3 separate regions of the Homo sapiens genome follow, and all the other regions are linked to region 2. Evidence: promoter capture Hi-C in 16 types of primary human blood cells and fetal thymus (Javierre and others, 2016). All regions are on one chromosome and are shown on one strand. The core of a region is centred on a gene start or on the middle of the fragment in contact, and the rest is flanking DNA. Distances in the headings are between cores, read along the strand shown.

What was found. The method cuts DNA at HindIII sites, captures the fragments that hold promoters and counts their contacts. A CHiCAGO score of 5 or more calls a contact.
Region 1: a fragment that was not itself captured here is called in contact with the fragment with the promoter of LENG8-AS1 in region 2 in 1 of 17 cell types (non-activated CD4 T cells); the score reaches 5.5 in non-activated CD4 T cells.
Region 3: a fragment that was not itself captured here is called in contact with the fragment with the promoter of LENG8-AS1 in region 2 in 1 of 17 cell types (naive CD4 T cells); the score reaches 5.2 in naive CD4 T cells.

What each region holds. Positions count from the first base shown.
Region 1 is chr19:51,335,999-51,340,052 of GRCh38, forward strand. It overlaps VSIG10L (V-set and immunoglobulin domain containing 10 like), which reads right to left. Exons shown (of 10, transcript NM_001163922.3): 4 at 4,017-4,054; 5 at 2,890-3,144; 6 at 1,932-2,210; 7 at 1,240-1,536. It overlaps VSIG10L-AS1 (VSIG10L antisense RNA 1), which reads left to right and starts at 4,022. Exons shown (of 5, transcript NR_186316.1): 1 at 4,022-4,054. RefSeq lists silencers at 2,916-3,255, 3,906-4,054. The HindIII fragment of the contact is 6,332 bases long and covers 1-4,054 here.
Region 2 is chr19:54,447,416-54,451,067 of GRCh38, forward strand. LENG8-AS1 (LENG8 antisense RNA 1) reads right to left here and starts at 1,623. Exons shown (of 3, transcript NR_126418.1): 1 at 1,147-1,623; 2 at 750-800. It overlaps LENG8 (leukocyte receptor cluster member 8), which reads left to right and starts at 1,784. Exons shown (of 16, transcript NM_052925.4): 1 at 1,784-1,895. RefSeq lists an enhancer at 1,534-2,441. The HindIII fragment of the contact is 2,202 bases long and covers 549-2,750 here.
Region 3 is chr19:51,359,282-51,363,161 of GRCh38, forward strand. All of the region lies in intron 1 of ETFB (electron transfer flavoprotein subunit beta), which reads right to left. Among named protein-coding and RNA genes, the nearest start is that of ETFB, 5.2 kb to the right of the region's middle. The HindIII fragment of the contact is 2,377 bases long and covers 380-2,756 here.

The DNA.
Region 1 (4,054 bases), core at 1,063-3,562, 3.1 Mb before region 2:
GAGTCATCTGATTATTAATGTTATTGAAGGCCATGAGCATGAACATGATCACTTTGGGGAGTGAGGACTAAATCCTGAGATGCTCCAATGGAGGCATGTTATCAACTGAATTGTGCCTACCCCAAAAGAAAAACATATGTTGAAGTCCTAACCCCTGTTCCTGTGAATGTGACTTTATTTTGGAATAAGGTCTTTGAAGATGTAACCAAGTCAATTTGAGGTATTAGGGTGGACCCTAATCCAATATAACTGGTGTCCTTAAAAGAAGAGGACAGAAGCCAGGTGCGGTGGCTCACACCTGTAATCCCAGCACTTTGGGAGGCCAAGGTGTGTGGGTCACCTGAGGTCAGGAGTTCAAGACCAGCCTGGCCAACATGGTGAAATCCCATCTCTACTAATACAAAAATTAGCTGGGTGTGGTGGCGCATGACTGTAATCCTAGCTACTCGGGAGGCTGAGGCAGGAGAATCACTTGAATCTGGGAGGTAGAAGTTGCGGTGAGCCGAGATCATGCCATTGCACTCCAGCCTGGGCGACAAGAGCAAAACTCCTTCTCAAAAAAGAAGAAGGAGAAGGAGAAGAAGAAGAAGAAGAGACACACACACAGGGAAGAAGCCTGTGGGAAGCTGGAGGCAGAGGTTGGAGTGATGCAGCTGCAAGTCCAGGAACGCCAAGGATGAAACAGCCGCCACCAGGAGCTAGGAAGACACAAAGGAGGATTCTACACAGGGTCTCAGAGGGAGTAGGACCCTGTCGACACCTTGATTTTTTTTTTTTTTTTTTTTTTGAGACGGAGTCTGGCTCTTTCACCCAGGCTGCAGTGCAGTGGCTGATCTCGGCTCACTGCAAGCTCCGCCTCCCGGGTTCGCGCCATTCTCCTGCCTCAGCCTCCCCAGTAGCTGGGACTACAGGCGCCCGCCACCGCGCCAGGCTAATTTTTTGTATTTTTAGTAGAGACGGGGTTTCACCGTGTGAGCCAGGATGGTCTCGATCTCCTGACCTCGTGATCCACCCGCCTTGGCCTCCCAAAGTGCTGGGATTACAGGCGTGAGCCACCGCGCCCAGCCGACACCTTGATTTTAGACTTCTGACCTCCAGACCTGTGAGAGAAGAAATTCCTGTAGTCTCAAGCCATGCAGTTCATGGTACTTTGTTAGGGCAGGCCCCAGGACACTAAAACAGGGAGACACGGAGGATCTGGCACAACAGAGAAGGTCTACTCTGACAGCCCCAACTCACCGGCCCGGTAGACCCGGCTTTGTGATGGAGTCCCTGGCTGGCCCCCCAGGATGGGCAGGATCCGAAAGGTCCAGGTCCCTGGGTTCCGAGGTGGAAGGGGCACCACGGCTGACCGCTCCTGAGGCCCCAGGATGAGCAGGGAGACCCAGTCCCTGTAGGTGGAAGTCCTGCCCAGAGCAGGCCCATCTGGCCATGCCTGGATCTCAAAACTGCTGATCAGGGCCCCGCGCTCCACATCCCAAGTCAGCACGGCTGCATCTCTGGCTCTCTGAAGCCTCCACGAGGATATGGAGGGTCCTAGAGGGATGTGGGGGTGGCTGGATTCTTGGGTGCCAGAGGGGAGAGGGAAGGGGGCTGGGGGGCTGGGCTCCTGGGTCTGAGGGGGAGGGGGCTGGGGGCCTGGACTCTTGGGTCTGAGGGAGGAGGGGGTGGGGGCCTGGACTCCTGGATCTGAGGGTGGAAGGGGCTGGTGACCTGGACTCCTGGGTCTGAGGGAAGAGGGGCTGGGGCTAGACCCTTGGGTCTGAGGGAGGAGGGGCTGAGGCCTGGACTCCAGGGTCTGAGGGAGGAGAGGCTGGGGGCCTGGATCCGAGGTCTGAGGGAGGAGAGGTCTGGGGCCTGAACTTCTGGGTCTGAGGGCTGGAGCGGCTGGGGACGTGGACTTCAGGGTTTTTTGAAATAACGTGGCTCACCAATGAGGGTGATCTGGTCACCGCCAGCACCCAGCGCCCCACTGCACAGCACGGAGTAATTTCCCAGGTCCCAATCCAGGCTGAAGTTGCCGATGTGGAGTTTCCGCCCATCTTGACTGAGCCGCAGGCGACTCCCGCCTCCTGGAGCCAGGGGCCTCCCTTCCCGGGCCCAGGATGCCCGTGAGGGTGGGGGACAACCAGAGGCCTCCAGTGCCACCTCTGCCTCCCCCAACCGTGTCTCTGCCACCAGCGGATGCAGCAGCACCTCTCGGGGGGCCTCTGCCGGTGGGAGAAGTCCAGTTAAGAAAGTCAAGACCTTACCTTGGATTCAAAGAACAGATCCTATGCCCTACTTTAAATCAGATGGTGGTAAGCCCCCACGCTTTGGCCACCTGAGAAAGAACTGCCAATTTACTCACTCATTAGCTCATTCATTCATTCATTCATTTATTATCTGATTTCCTCATCAAACACTTATTGAACACATACCATAGGCGCAGGCCCTGTACTGGGAAACTCATATTATTTTCAGCTATTCTTTCTTCTTTATTATTATTATTATTTTGTAGCAATAATAATTACAAGACTGGGTCTTGCCACACTGCCCAGGCTGGTCTTGAACTCCTAGACTCAAGCAATCCTCCCGCCCCCAGCTACCAAAGTGCTGCGATTATTGCGCCCGGCCTTGTTACTTTTTAAAATATCACTGCTTTATCTCTCTGAACACGTGTGAAAGTGATGGCCTTCTTCCTGTGTCCAGAAAAATACCCCCATCCCTGCACCCCGCCACCATGAGGTATAGGAAAATCTTTGTCCCTTTTCTAGTTTGAAGACAGTGAAGTCCTGCCTCTTTCTTGGACTAAGGACGTACCCCATACCCCTTCAGAATTTTCGAAGGACCAAAGAAAAAGTCTCCCTCCTCCTCGAGAAACAGCAAAAAAGCCCCGCGCCCTCTCACCCGGCGTGACTGTGCAGGTACGCGTGGCCACCAGGTGGCGAGCAAGGCAGGTGATGGGGACGCCGCTGAGCCGGGGGTGGGCGGGGACGGCCGCCAGCAGCACAGAGGACACTGGCCCGGCGCGGATGCCTTCGGGGAGACCCTGGAACTGCAGGGAGGCAGCAGGGGCCCCGCCGGGCCACGAGCAGCGGAAGCGGAGGCTGCGGTCCCCGGGACCCCCTTCAACTGAGCACTGTGGGGCCCCGGGGGGCAGGTCTGCGGAGAGAAGGGAGAGAATGAAGATGGAGTCCCTTTCTCATTTCTTCTCCAGCCCCGCCTCCCCGCGCGGTGACTCCACCCTTCTTCACTAGCCCCACCCCATAGGCGCTCACACTCCCCACTTTTCCTGCGATCCCGTTCCCTTTTCCCATTAACTTCCTCGCTAAGTGGGTAGCCCGCAGCCCTGCTGACTGCCCAACTTTCTTAAGAAAACTGCATCTTCACACAATGATATTTCTCTTCCCAAACGTAACTCAGCCCCTTCCTTTCCAGCTCCACCCACTTCTGCCAGGTTACTTCGCCCCCTCCTGGATTGCACTCCGAGAAGCCTCCCCTTTTCCCAGATATCTCCGCCCTTCCTTGTGGACCCCTTCCCCTTTCTAAGACAATTCTGCCCGCTTTCTAAATGACCTCGCCCCTTTCCCTGGTGACTCCGCCCCCCTTGCCAGGTAACTTCTCCCTTTGCTGATCCCACTTAAGCAAATTAGTTCTTTCCTTTTCTAACTCCCACTCTTTGCCATTTAACTCCGCTTGTCGACTTTGTCGAGTGTTCCATGCCCAGGAATGTCCGCCCTCTCAGTGCTGGGCCGGCCCGTCAGTCCTGGTCATCCCTGCCACTCTATTTGGCTCCTTCCCTTATCCTCTTTCTGGCCCCGCCTCTTATCCTAGGTGTCTCCGCCCCTCCGCGCTGGCCCGCCCCACCACGGGTATCCCAGCTCCTTCTTGGTGACCCGCCCTCCCGCTGGCCCTGCCCCACCCACCGGTATGCTGCTCCTCCTTGCTGGCCCCGCCCCTTTCCTCTAGCCCCGCCCTCGTTCTGGCCCCGCCCCTCTCCCAGGCATTCCCCTACTCCCGCTCCAGCCTCTCACCCGCCACTGTAAGGTTGAGCAGCGAGCGGCGGCGGCGG
Region 2 (3,652 bases), core at 373-2,872:
ACGTGGGTCCTGGCTTGTACCCTGGCATGTAAAGAAAACATTGGAGGAAAAGGTGGTGAAATCCCAGTAAAGTCTGGGTTTTAGTTACAGTAATGCATCATGTCAGTATCTACAACAAACCACTTTTGTTGGTGCTTGTGATGACAGCATCAGAAGAAAGTGGGCATAAAACATGGTGGACTGCTTATGATCTTTGCAACTTTTCTTTTTTTTTTTTTTGAGACAAGAATTTCACTCTTGTTGCCCAGGCTGGAGTGCAATGGTGTAACCTCGGCTCACTGCAACCTTGGCCTCCTGGGTTCAAGCGATTCTCCTGCCTCAGCCTCCCGAGTAGCCGGGATTACAGGTGCACGCGCCACCACGCCCAGCTAATTTCTGTATTTTTAGTAGAGACGGGACTTCACCATGTTGGCCAGGCTGATCTTGAACTCCTGACCCCAGGTGATCCACCCATCTCGGCCTCCCAAAGTGTTGGGATTACAGGCGTGAGCCAGCGCGCCCGGTCTTTGCAACGTTTTGAATAAATCCAAAATTATTCCAGAACAAAAAGCTTAGTACCAAAAAGAAAACAAAAACAAAAACAAAACAAACCCCCCCCCCCCCACAGAGTAAAATAACGGAAAAAGATCTACTATGCTAGCACTAACAAAATAATACGTAGTTATGAAAATGGTATGTATTTTTCAAGCTAGACGTTCATAATGGTAGAACATGAGGAGGAAAACTGCCTCTTAAATCCCACCACTTACTGTGACACAGTGACCGGTCCCTGCAGCGGACTGGATAGTTGTATCAGAGTCCTGGACGGAAACAGATGGCACTCAAAAGGTGGCGCGCAGTTCAGAGAAATGCCTATGTACGGATTTGGTCCAATGCCTCAGCCTGACCTCAGGGACCTTCGGGGGTCTGCTCCGCGCCCACCCTTACACATCTGTGACCCCACACACTTCCACCCCAGCGCCACTGCCAACAGCTACACCCATCCCCCTCCAACCGCGTCAGCTTCCAGCCTCGGTCCATCTGAACTCGCCGTGCCCCCTCCCCTGCGCCCTTCCAGATTCATTTGCTAGGGAAGCCCGCTCTTCCGGGTGGAGCTGTTCCTCATCCCCTTTCTTTATCATTCTCTCCCCAGGGCTTCCACATCACCGTGCTGTGGACAATCCCGGAACTCCTGTCACGCCAGTTTACATTTAGGAACAGTAATGGCTCCCACTGACTCAGTCAAAACAAGGCTGCGGCCGGGCACGGTGGCTCACGCCCGTAATCCCAGCACTTTGGGAAGCCGAGACGGAGGGATCACGAGGTCAGGAGTTCGAGAACAGCCTGGCCGACATGGTGAAACCCCGTCTTTACTAAAAACACAAAAATTAGCCGGGCATAGTGGCGCGCGCCTGTAATCCCAGCTACTCCGGAGGCTGAGGCAGAATTGTTTGAACCCAGGAGGCGGAGGTTGCAGTGAGCAGAGATCACGCCACTGTACTCTATCGTGGGCGACGACAGAGCAAGAGCAAGACTCCGTCTCCGAGAACAACAACAACAGCAACAAGAAAACAACAATAAAAAAAATAAGGCTGCGTGGGAGGCAGAAAGAGCTAATGCGGCCACGCTTGTCTCCTCGGGGCCACCGTCCCCACCCAGACTTCCGGTCTGCCTTAAAATGTTCATGCGTAAGTGCGTGGGCAGGAAGGCGGGCTCAAGCGCAGCTCGTGGCGTTCATTGGCTGTGCAGGGCCGAGGGAGGCGGTGCAAGGCCGCCGCGTGACGTCAGGACGCCGCGGTCAGGACGTCGAAGCCAAAGAAGACCAGAGCCAGCCGGGTGGCACAGCGGTGTCGTGGCCGTGTTGCTGATCGCCTGGGTGGTTGTTGGCGTGTCCCTGCAGCGAAGGATCCTGGTTGGTAAGGGGAGCGGCAGGCGAGCAGGCGGGCGGGGATAGCATCTCCTTTTGGTCTTGCGCCCCGCGAGCCCCGAGGCCTTCTCGGCCGTCGCAGCAGCAGACGCCGCGCGCGAGCGTCGACAGGGTGTGGCGGCGCAGGGGCAGCCACTGCGCCTGCGCACCGGGCCTGGGGCCGCGCGTTCGGGCACTAGCGCGCGTGCGCCGTCGTCTTCTAATTTCCGTTCCTCTCCCTTGGAGTTCTCGGGGCCCCGGGGCGCCCCTCACTCGCCGTTGACCGGGTGTTGCCCCGGGCGACGGGCGGCTCCTGCGCGTCTTTCTGGGGCGTGGTGCGCAGGCGCGGCCTGGGCAGTGGCTCCGTGGCTAGTCGTGGGGATCCGAGCGGCCTCCTCCACCCGGCGTCCTCCTTTGCCTTCGCCCAGCCTGCGGGACGGCCAGGTGCTCCCGGGACCTCAGGCCTCGCGTCTGATGCCTGTCTCTGTTCTTGAGACCCGTCCGGGAGTCCTCTGTCCAGCCCCCAACTCCTGACCTTACCTCTAATCTCCCTTCTGCCCTGGGGCTCCTCTTCCTGTGTCCCCGCCACGATCCCTCGTCTCCACCCACGCCCTGTGTCCTGTTTAAGTTAAGCCTTTGCGTTTCTAGGGCTTTTCCCCAGCTCCAGACTCCCGTTCCTATCCCGTCAACTCGTGGGAATTCCGGTTCTCCTGCGGGATTAATTATCCTACTTATCAGTTACTCCCTCTCGGGAGTTTAGGCTCCTGAATCCTTGCTCCGGAGACACTCCACTTTTCTTCCAATTCTCTCTGTACCCCACTCTTAATTCGTTGAACATGTTTTGGGTCTTCTTTGGCATTCCCAAAGCTTTATGTCCAGACACCCAACCACGGTGATCCCTTTTCTCTCCCAGCCCTACCCCTGCTTCCGGGAACCTCCCGTGGAAGCAGGCAGGGGTAGTCCCACTGAGGACTCCCACGTAGGTCTCTTTACTGCCCTTCGGAGACCTTTTTGAAATCAGTCTGTCAGTGCTAAGAACCCATTTCTTCACGTTGGGGTTCACGTTGGCATTCTCAGGAACGCTCAACGACCACTTGCTTCCAGGGTTAACTTCCGGAAAATCCCCTTTTCCTCTCAAAATTTTCTTCTCTTCTCCAATATTCTTCCAGCCCCCTCGATGCTCCCTGAAAGGCCTCCCTTTTCACAGAGTTCTCGGAAACCTTTCCACCCTCTCAGCCTTAAGGGTTCCCTCAGACTCTTCTCATTATAGCATCCATCCTCTTGGTTCAGGTTCCTTTCACAACCCGTACTCCCTAGCTTTTTTTTTTTTTTTTTTTTTGAGACAGAGTTTCGCTCTTGTTGCCCAGGCTGGAGAGCAATGGCGCAGTCTCAGCTTACCGCCCTCCGCCTCCCGTGTTCAAGCGATTCTCCTGCCTCGGCCTCCCTAGTAGCTGGGATTACAGGCATATGCCACCATGCCCAGCTAATTTGGTATTTTTAGTAGAGACGTGGTTACTCCATGTTGGTTAGGCTGGTCTCGAACTCCCGACCTCAGGTGACCTGCCCGCCTTGGCCTCTCAAAGTGCTGGGATTACAGGCGTGAGCCACCGCGCCTGGCCCCTAGAATTTTTTGTAGACCTTTTCCCCTTGATGGAGGCACCCCTACCCTCTGGACCTTTCATCACAGCCTCTCTTTGCTCACATGGGTTTCAGACCCTTCTCCTTCCCTTTGGGAAGTCTGCTCTGGCTTCCCTGTTTCCAAATCCT
Region 3 (3,880 bases), core at 318-2,817, 3.1 Mb before region 2:
TCCTGGCCTAAAGTGATCCGCCTGCTTCAGCCTACCAAAGTGATGGGATTACAGGTGTGAGTCGCAGTGCCTGGCCTTTTTTCTTAAAAAAAAAAACACAACATAGGAGTTGCCCCTTTAAGACAGAAAAGAACCTCATCCACCCATCAGTAAGAGGCCCCAAGCTTCTTGCTGTGAGTCAGGGAGGCTTCTGAAGGGCCTCAAGCCACATCTTGCTCTTGCTCTGGCAGAACTCCCAGCCCTAAGCTCCTGATTCCCAGGCTCCTGACTCCTGAGGAGAAAGGGTAAGAACTTTCCAGACACACACACACACACGCACGCACACACACCTGAGGAAACAAACTAGCTCATCTTCTCAATTAAGCTTGAGTTGATTTTAAGCTTCAAAAACAGTTTAGTTATATTACATAAGTCAGGAAACAATGGTAGGGCTGAAAAATGATAGCTTGTTTGTTTTTTAAATAATGATGGCTCATGCCTGTAATCCCAGCACCTTAGGAGACTGAGGAAGGAGGATCACTGGAGCCCAGGATTTCAAGACCAGCCTGGGCAACATAGAGAGACTTCATCTCTACCAAAAAACAAAATTAGCAGGTCATGGTGGCGTGCACCTGTAGTCCCAGCTACTGAGGAGGCTGAGGTGGGAGGACGGCTTGAACCCAGGAGGGTCGAGGCTGCAGCGAGCTGTGACTGTACCACTCTAGCCTGGGTGACAGAGCTAGACCTTGTCTCAAAAAGAAAAAAAAAAAGTTTTATAATTGAGGTAAATCATTCAGCATTAAGTGCTGGCTTTCTCTTAAAGAGACGACATATCCACCAATATCAAAAACAGCCTCAAAGCTGGGCGTGGCGGCTCACACCTGTAATCCCAGCACTTTGTGGGGCTGAGGTGGGTGGATCACTTGTGGTCAGGAGTTCGAGACCAGCCTGGCCAACATGGTAAAACCCCATCTCTACTAAAAATACAAAAATTAGTCGAGCGTTTTAGCACATGCCTGTAATTCCAGCTAGTTGGGAGGCTGAGGGAGGAGAATCACTTGAACCCGGGAGGTGGAGGTTGCAGTGAGCAGGGATCACATCAATGCACTCCAGCCTGGGTGACAGACCAGATTCTATCTCAAAAAAAAAAAAAGAAAAGAAAAAAAAAATTTTTTTAAAAGCAGCACTGACCCATGCAGACAACGAGTCAAGGGTTTTATATGCATTAACTCGTTTGACCATCCTAGTAGCCTGTGAGGTTGGTTACTGCCATTACCTCTCATTTTACAGATGAGGCAACTGAGGCACAGAGAGGCCAAGTACCTTGGCCAGGGCCACTGAGCATGGAAGTGGCAGGACCACGGGTCTAACCCCAAATCTGTCTTGGGAACTGTGAGACTCTGAAAGAGGCTACGTGTGCCCACGGTGTTAGGAGAGCCAGTCTTCCTATTTGTTGTCCACTGCAGGCAAGAGGGATTTTCTTCTCTTCTCTTTTCTTTCTCTCTTTCTCTCTCTCTCTCTCTCTCTCTTTCTCTTTCTTTTTGATACAGAGTCTTGTTCTGTTGCCCAGGCTGGGGTGCAGTAGTATGATCTTGGCTCACTGCAAACTCCACCTTCTGGGTTCAAGCGATTCTCCTGCCTCAGCCTCCCCAGTAGCTGGGACTACAGGCGCCTGCCACCACGCCTGGCTAATTTTTTGTATTTTTAGTAGAGACAAGGTCTCACCGTGTTAGCCAGGATGGTCTCAATCTCCTAACCTTGTGATCCACCCGCCTCAGCCTCCCAAAGTGCTGAGATTACACGTGTGGGCCACCGCGCCCGGCCCACGCCTGGCTAATTTTTTTATTTTTAGTAGAGATGGGGTTTCGTCATGTTGGCCAGGCTGGTCTCGAACTCCTGACCTCAGGTGATCCGCCCACCTCGGCCTCCCAAAATGCTGGAATTACAGGTGTGAGCCACCACGCCCGGCCCAAGAGGGATTTTATAAAGTGATTTTCGACAGCTCTTCCTGAACCCCTGACACAGCTCAAGGACTTGTGTGGTTCTGTCCTCTAGGCTTTTCTGTCAAGCGAGTCCCTGGGCACGTGCTAGGGCACTCAGCAAGCAGGACAGCCAAGGCCAGGGAGCCACCCCAGTGACAGATCACTAACTCGGCGGGGGGCAGACAGAGAACTCGTCCCTGAGGTGACATGTGAGCCCCACGTGTGCCCTGTCAGACAAGGTGGCCTTGCTGAGAGCAGGAGGGGCAAGTGCGTGGAGCCCAAAGAGGAAAACCTGAAGAAACACCAGGCGCTCCCAGACGAGAGGGTGTGGCTGGTCGGGGTTGGGCCCCGAGATGGAAACACGTTTTCTGGGCCTGGAGTTTCTATCCTGTGGGGTCATCTCTAAGAAAATGAATCCCAGATAATGAATACAAAATTGCCCAGCCTCTCCTGGGTTTTTTTTTTTTTTTTTTTTTTTGTGAGACGGAGTCTCCCTCTGTCACCCAGGCTGGAGTGCAGTGGCACGATCTCGGTTCACTGCAACCTCCGCCTCCCTGGTTCAAGCGATTCTTCTGCCTCAGCCCCCCGAGTAGCTGGGACTACGGGCACGCGCCGCCATGCCCAGCTAATTTTTGTATTTTTAGTAGAGACAGAGTTTCACTCTGTTGGCTAGGATGGTCTTGAACTCCTGACCTCGTGATCCACCCACCTCAGCCTCCCAAAGTGTGTGTTTACAGGCGTGAGCCACCAGGCCCAGCCTTTCTCCTGGGGTCTTGAAAGAGGCCCTGAAGGTTAAGCTTCATCAGCTTCCTGTAAAATGTGCCCCTGAACAGGACAGGGTGTTACTGAGTTGCCAAATACCTATTAAAATGTTAGATACACGCACATACCCAGAAACATACACACAGCCGGACACACATACACACACACACACACACACACACACACACACACACACACACGAATACACTCTGAGCACAGCATTTGTTATGTTTTGAATAAATGACTAACTAAACATCCATTACTACTACTCCCAATAAAAACACTTATTGCAGCTGGTCACAGTGGCTCACACCTGTAATCCCAGCACGTTGGGAGGCTGAGGCGGGTGGATTACCTGAGGTCAGGAGGTCTAGACCAGCCTGGCTAACATAGCAAAACCTCGTTTCTACTAAAAATACAAAAATTAGCCAGGCGTGGTGGCTCACACGTGTAATCCCAGCTACTCAGGAGGCTGAGGCAGAGTTGCTTGAACCTGGGAAGTGGAGGTTCCAGTGAGCTGAGATCATGCCACTGCACTCCAGCCTGGGCAACAGAGATAGACTCCGTCTCAAAAAATAAAACAAAACAAACCACTGTGTGCCAGGCACTGTTCCAAGGGCTTATTTAATTTTCATTACAACTCAATAAAGTAGATAGTACCATCATCCCCATTGTACAGAGTAGAAAAATGAGGCTTAGAGTGGTGAAGCAATTTCCTCAAGGTCACACAGCAGGAAGTGGACGCAGGCGCTGGGCTTGGAGTCTGAGGTCTGCACTATTCTAGTAGTGAACCCACTGTCTCAGGAAGCAGTGACCACATCAAACTGTCTCCCCCACACCTGGAGCTCAAATTCCAGAAGGGGCGACAGACACCAGAGCAATCAATAAGTAAACAACACTGTGGATTACAAAGTGTCCACACCAGCTTCCCTCTGGGGACAAGCTGGGCTCTCAGAGGGTGCCCCTGCTCCCACCTCCTTCATGGAGAATGTGAGTCACTCCCTCCACTCAGTTAGGTTGGCTCCTTGAACTTTCATCTCTAGCAAACATACTTTCCTCTCCCTTTCTAGTTGCTAAGTATAGGGGAAAACACAGCAAAACACAGGGACCTGGGGCCTGTGATTTTAAGGAGGCAAGCAGGGAAGTCCTCCCAGAGA